Linked DNA regions of Homo sapiens: region 1 is linked to region 2. Evidence: promoter capture Hi-C in 16 types of primary human blood cells and fetal thymus (Javierre and others, 2016). All regions are on one chromosome and are shown on one strand. Each heading gives the region's core, a stretch centred on a gene start or on the middle of the fragment in contact. The rest is flanking DNA. Distances are from core to core; before and after follow the strand shown. Region 1 overlaps FKBP5 (FKBP prolyl isomerase 5). Region 2 holds the start of PPARD (peroxisome proliferator activated receptor delta).

Evidence for each region. The method cuts DNA at HindIII sites, captures the fragments that hold promoters and counts their contacts. A CHiCAGO score of 5 or more calls a contact.
Region 1: a fragment that was not itself captured here is called in contact with the fragment with the promoter of PPARD in region 2 in 1 of 17 cell types (naive CD4 T cells); the score reaches 5.2 in naive CD4 T cells.

What each region holds. Positions count from the first base shown.
Region 1 is chr6:35,625,345-35,628,251 of GRCh38, forward strand. The region is part of intron 3 of FKBP5 (FKBP prolyl isomerase 5); the gene reads right to left. Among named protein-coding and RNA genes, the nearest start is that of MIR5690, 38 kb to the right of the region's middle. The HindIII fragment of the contact is 3,458 bases long and covers 1-2,907 here.
Region 2 is chr6:35,341,308-35,344,007 of GRCh38, forward strand. PPARD (peroxisome proliferator activated receptor delta) reads left to right here and starts at 1,251. Exons shown (of 8, transcript NM_006238.5): 1 at 1,251-1,374. RefSeq lists silencers at 1,103-1,312, 1,493-1,632, 1,663-1,712. The HindIII fragment of the contact is 7,732 bases long and covers 545-2,700 here.

The DNA of each region.
Region 1 (2,907 bases), core at 159-2,658, 280 kb after region 2:
GAAGTGCTGGGATTACAGGTGTGAGTCACCATGCCCAACCCCCAAAGCATAAACATTTTAAAGATTCTTCATCTTCAGGATCTCAGTCATAGGTAACATACACCAAGAATAGGCCGGTGCAGTGGCTCACGCCTGTAATCTCAGCACTTTGGGAGGATGAGGTGGGCAGATCACGAGGTCAGAGGATTGAGACCATCCTGGCTAACACGGTGAAATCCCGTCTCTACTAAAAATACAAAAAATTAGCCGGGCGTGGTGGTGAGTGCCTGTAGTCCCAGCTACTCGGGAGGCTGAGGCAGGAGAATGGCGTGAACCCGGGAGGCGGAGCTTTCAGTGAGCCGAGATTGCGCCACTGCACTCCAGCCTGGGCGACAGAGCAAGACTCCGTCTCAAAAAAAAACACACCAAGAATACATAATGTCAATTTATTTATTTATTTATTTATTTATTTTTGAGATGGAGTCTCGCTCTGTCGCCCAGGCTGGGGTGCAGTGGCGCTATCTCTGCTCACCGCAAGCTCCGCCTCCCGGGTTCACGCCATTCTCCTGCCTCAGCCTCCCGAGTAGCTGGGACTACAGGCGCTAGCCACCACTCCTGGCTAATTTTTTGTATTTTTAGTAGAGATGGAGTTTCATCGTGTTAGCCAGGATGGTCTCGATCTCCTGACCTCGTGATCCGCCTGCCTCAGCCTCCCAAAGTGCTGGGATTACAGGCGTGAGCCACCGTGCCTGGCCACGTCAATTTATTCTTACACTTGATCTGGACTTCAGTTTTACTAGCTTATACACAATTTATCAATTTCAGGAGTCTTATTCCATTTGTAATAAAATATAAAACAAGAATATATATGTATACAAATGTATAATATAGCTATTACTAAATTTAAATGCTTTTTATACGTATGTAACTATAGGCAGGTGAAAAAGTTTAAAAGCATACAAAGCCCAGTATAAAAGCAATGCATTATACTTTTTCTTCCTTCTGTAATGTTACACTTTTTTCTGGTTTAAAAAAATTATATAACATATTTTAAGATACAACATTTTAATCACTTAACAGTTTCATTTATAGTAAAGACTATAGTGACCACTTCAGAACATTCTGACTACATAATGTTTTCTCCTTGAGTTTTAAAAAAAACGCTTAATTGTGGGGGGATAAAAAAAAGCATTTACCATCTTAGCTATTTTAAAGTGCACAGTTCACTATTTTTAAGTATATTCACATTGTTGTGCAACCAATCTCCAGAACTTTTTCATCTTGCAAAACTAAAATTTTATACCCATTAAGCATTTCCTCCTTCCCTAATCTTTGGCAACTTCTATTCTACTTTGTTTTTATGAATTTGACTACTCTGGATAGATAACTCATATAAGTGGAATCAGACAGTACTTTTCTTTTTGTCACTGGATTACTTCACTTAGTATAATGCCCTCAAGGTTCGTCCATGTTGTAGCATCTGCCAGAATTTTTCTTTAAAACGTAAATATTCCACTGTACGTTTATATCACATTTTGTTTATCTATTCATCTATTGAAGGACACTTGAGTTGCTTCCACCTTTTGGTTGCTGTTAATAATGCTGCTACAAACATGAGTGTACAAATATCTCTTCAAGACCCTGCTTTCAATTCTGTTGGTTATATGCCCACAAGTAGAACTGCTAGATCAACATGGTAACTCTATTTTTAATTTTTTGAGGAACTTCCATACCGTTTTCCACAGCAGCTGCACTATTTTACATTCCCACCAACAGCGCATAAGGGTTCCAATTTCTCTACATCCTCATCAACACTTGTTGTTTTCTCTTTTTTTAACAGTACCCATTCTAACCGGTATGAGGGTAATACTTCACTGTGGTTTTGACTTGCATTTCCCTAATGATTAGTGATGTTGAACATCTTTTCATATGCTTGTTGTCCATTTTTATATCTTCTTTGGAGAAATTTCAAGCCCTTTGCCCAGTTTTTAAAAAGTTTTTAGAGACAGGGTATCGCTATGTTGCCCAGACTGGTCTTGAACTCCTGGCGTCTAAGTGACCCTCCCACCTAGGTCTCCCAAAATGCTGGGATTACAGGTATGGCCACTGCAACTGGTCCTTTACCCATTTTTAAATTGGGCTATTTTGTTGTTTTTGTTGAGTTATAGGAGTTGTTTGTGTATTCTGGGTATTAATCCCTTATCAGATATAAGATTTGCAAACATTTTTCTCCCATTCCATAGGCTGCCTTTCATTCTGTTACTGTTTGATGCACAAAAGTTTTTAATTTTGATGTATTCTAATTTATGTTTAATTTATGATGTACAGTAATTTATGTTTAATTGTTTTACTTTTGTTGCCTGTACTTTTGATGTCATGCCAAGAAACCACTGCAAAATCCAATGTCATGAAGCCTTTCCTCCATATTCTTTATCTTTTCTTTTTTCTTTTTTTTGAGACATAGTTTCGTTCTTGTTGCCTAGGCTGGAGTGCAATGGTGTGATCTTGGCTCACTGCAACTTCTGCCTCCCGGGTTCAAGCGATTCTCCTGCCTCCACCTCCCAAGTAGCTGGGATTATAGGCATGCGCCACCATGCCCAGCTAATTTTTTTTTTTTTTTTTTTTTTTAGTAGAGACGGGGTTTCACCATATTGGTCAGGGCTGGTCTTGAATTCCTAACCTCAGGTGATCCGCCCGCCTCGGCCTCCCAAAGTGCTGGCATTACAGGTGTGAGCCACTGTGCCCGGCCTTCCTCCATATTCTTATGGGAAGGTTTCTAATGCAAGGTTTAGATCTTGCATTTAGGTCTTTGATCCATTTTGAGTTAATTTTTGCAGATGGTGTAAGATAAGGACCCAATTTCATTCTTTTACATGTGGATATCTAGCTTTTCCAACACCATTTGTTGAAAAGACTGTTCTTTCTCCC
Region 2 (2,700 bases), core at 1-2,500:
GGAGGTTGACATCTAAGTTACAAATATAATGCACAAGCATTTCAAAAAGTAGGGGAAAAAAAAGAAAAAGAAAAAGAGAAGCAGAAAGAAGGGGGAAAAAATCACTCATCCCTGCCAGGCACGGTGGCTCACGCCTGTAATTCCAGCACTTTGGGAGGCTAAGGTGGGAGGATAACTTGAGTCCAGGAGTTCAAGACCAGCCTGGGCAACATGGCAAAACCCTGTCTCTACTAAAATTACAATAATTAGCTGGGCGTGTGGCGCATGCCTGTAATCCCAGCTACTTGGGAGGTTGAGGCAGGATAATCGCTTGAACCCGGGAGGCGGAGGTTGCAGCGGGCTGAGATTGCGCAACTGCACTCCAGCAGGGGCGACAGAGTGAAACTGTGTCTCAAAAAAAAAAAAAAAAAAAAAAATCACTCATCCAGATAGCTAGGTGTGGCCTAAGGAGCTTGCGGCCTACGGAAGGTGTGGCCGAAGGAGAGGGGAGGGGTCATCTTTAATGATGATGGAGGGGAGGCATTGGTCATATACCTGAGAGTCAAGCTTTGTTCATCGTCAGATGAAAGCCAACTTCTTCCACCAGATTGCCTCCCAGCTGCTAGGTAGTTTCCTGTGGTACATCTTAAGCGGTAGGTTGGGATAATAGGTCCCTTCCAGGTCTTAAAGATGTGGATTAATAAGAACAGAATTTTCTACAACAATAAGGAGGATGTCCCCTATTTTAGGTGAATAAGCGTATTGCATAAGCACATGGGAAGAAAGGTTAAGAACTCTAAGACCGTAAATTTCCAGTTGTAGAAGCCTCTTGAAGGCGGAAAGCCCTTTTTTGAAAATTATAGGCGATATGATCTCCTCCAGTGGACCTAGCACTGGGTTAAGAGTCTCTCCAGACTTGTCACTGCAAGTCACGTACCTTTTCTAGGACTAAGTTTCTTCACTGGAAGATGAGGAGGTTGCACTAGATGACCTAGAAATTCCCTTCCAGCTTTAAATTCCCTCTTGTGTCACTTGCTGGACTTGTTCTACTGGACCTGGCGCTCCCCTGCTCCTCCCTTAGCTGCTACGTCCGCATCCCGCACCAGAGGGCGCCACAGGCTGGCCCGGGGCAGCGTGCGGTGGGCGGAGAGGCAGAATTAGGGGAGTCTCCAGGAGGCGTGGTGATTGGCCGCCGCCGGGCGGAAGGGGGCGTGGGGAGGGAAAGGCCGAGCAGCGCGGTGACGTCTCGCTGGCGGGGGCGGGGCCGGGCCGCGGAGCGTGTGACGCTGCGGCCGCCGCGGACCTGGGGATTAATGGGAAAAGTTTTGGCAGGAGCGGGAGAATTCTGCGGAGCCTGCGGGACGGCGGCGGTGGCGCCGTAGGCAGCCGGGACAGGTCAGTCCGAGACGAGAGAAGCGGTCAGGCAAGTGGCGGAGGGAAGCGCCGGGCCTGGGCCGAGGCGGCCAGCGGGACTGGGGCGCAAGGCCCGGCGGCGGGGAACGGGGTGCGGGGAGCTGCCGGGGTCCGCGGACAGCGTCACGGCGGCTTCCTGATGCTCCGGCCCGCTCCGGTCAGCCGTCGTGCGTTGCCATGTAGGCGCCCCGCTGACCCTGCGCCCCCCCGCCCTTGGACCCCCATAGCTGCTTGAGTGAGTCCGAAATACGGGCCTCCTTCCACCCTACTCTTTGCCCCCTCTTGGGCCTGGTGGCTTCGTCTTCTCCCACTTGTGAGAACCCCGTCTCAGGCCCGGGGGCCTCTCCCATTCCCCTCCCCTGCCTCTGACCTCTTCCTTCACCCGTTTCTGGTGTTCCTGAATCCACTGCCCTATCTAGCGAGAGTCTTCTCTGGGATCTTTTCCTCTGTCCCCCTCGTTATCCTTGTCTCCTGCCTTCATCCTCCCATCCTTGCTCTCTCAGGCTTTACTCTCTCTCCCCATCCCTGTCCCCTTCTTATCTGTGGTCTGATCCCTCCTAGTATTATGGGTCCCCATCCTCTTCCCCAGGGTGTTCCTAGGCTTTTTCCAACTCCGTGCCTGCAGTCCCTGTCTCCCTAAGACTCTCACCTTGGTTCCCTGAGAGGCCCTGTTTTTGCTCCTTTTTCCGATTTCCTTCGTATCAATTCTGTCCCCTACATTCCTGTCGCCCACCTCCTTTTCTCTCCCTGTTCCTTTCCCCTGCTTCAGGGAGAAGCCTTAGCTCCACACTCTACTCTACTTTCACTTGACCTGCAGTTGACATAACCATGGGGTGGGGGTGGAGGTGTTCAGACCTTGATCGAATTAAGAGGCTGATTGACTAAAGGAAATAACAGATTGTGTGGGAGAATGTACGTGGGTGTTGCATCAGAGATGATGTCCAATTTGTAGGCCATTCTTCTTATCTCAGCTTTAATACTTCCCCTTTATGGGGCTGTTGACTTCCAGGAACCCTTGGGGGAGACGGCGCTGAGCTGGATGTGTGCCACGGGTAGCCGGAGGCTTTGTCCAATTCTTTTCCCCTTCCAGGAACCGGGGTTTTGTGTCTTTCCACTCTGGATGTGTGGAATACACTTATACCATGATACCCCAGCCTCTCTCTGCCCTCACTCCCACCCTCCACCCTGTGCTCCATCCGAAAGGACTAAGAGAATTCTCCAGAAGCTGTGCTCCAGAAAATACTTGTGGTCCTCAACCTTTTTTCTGTGTACTGGCTCCAGAACTTTTTTTTTTCCCGTTTGAGTTTT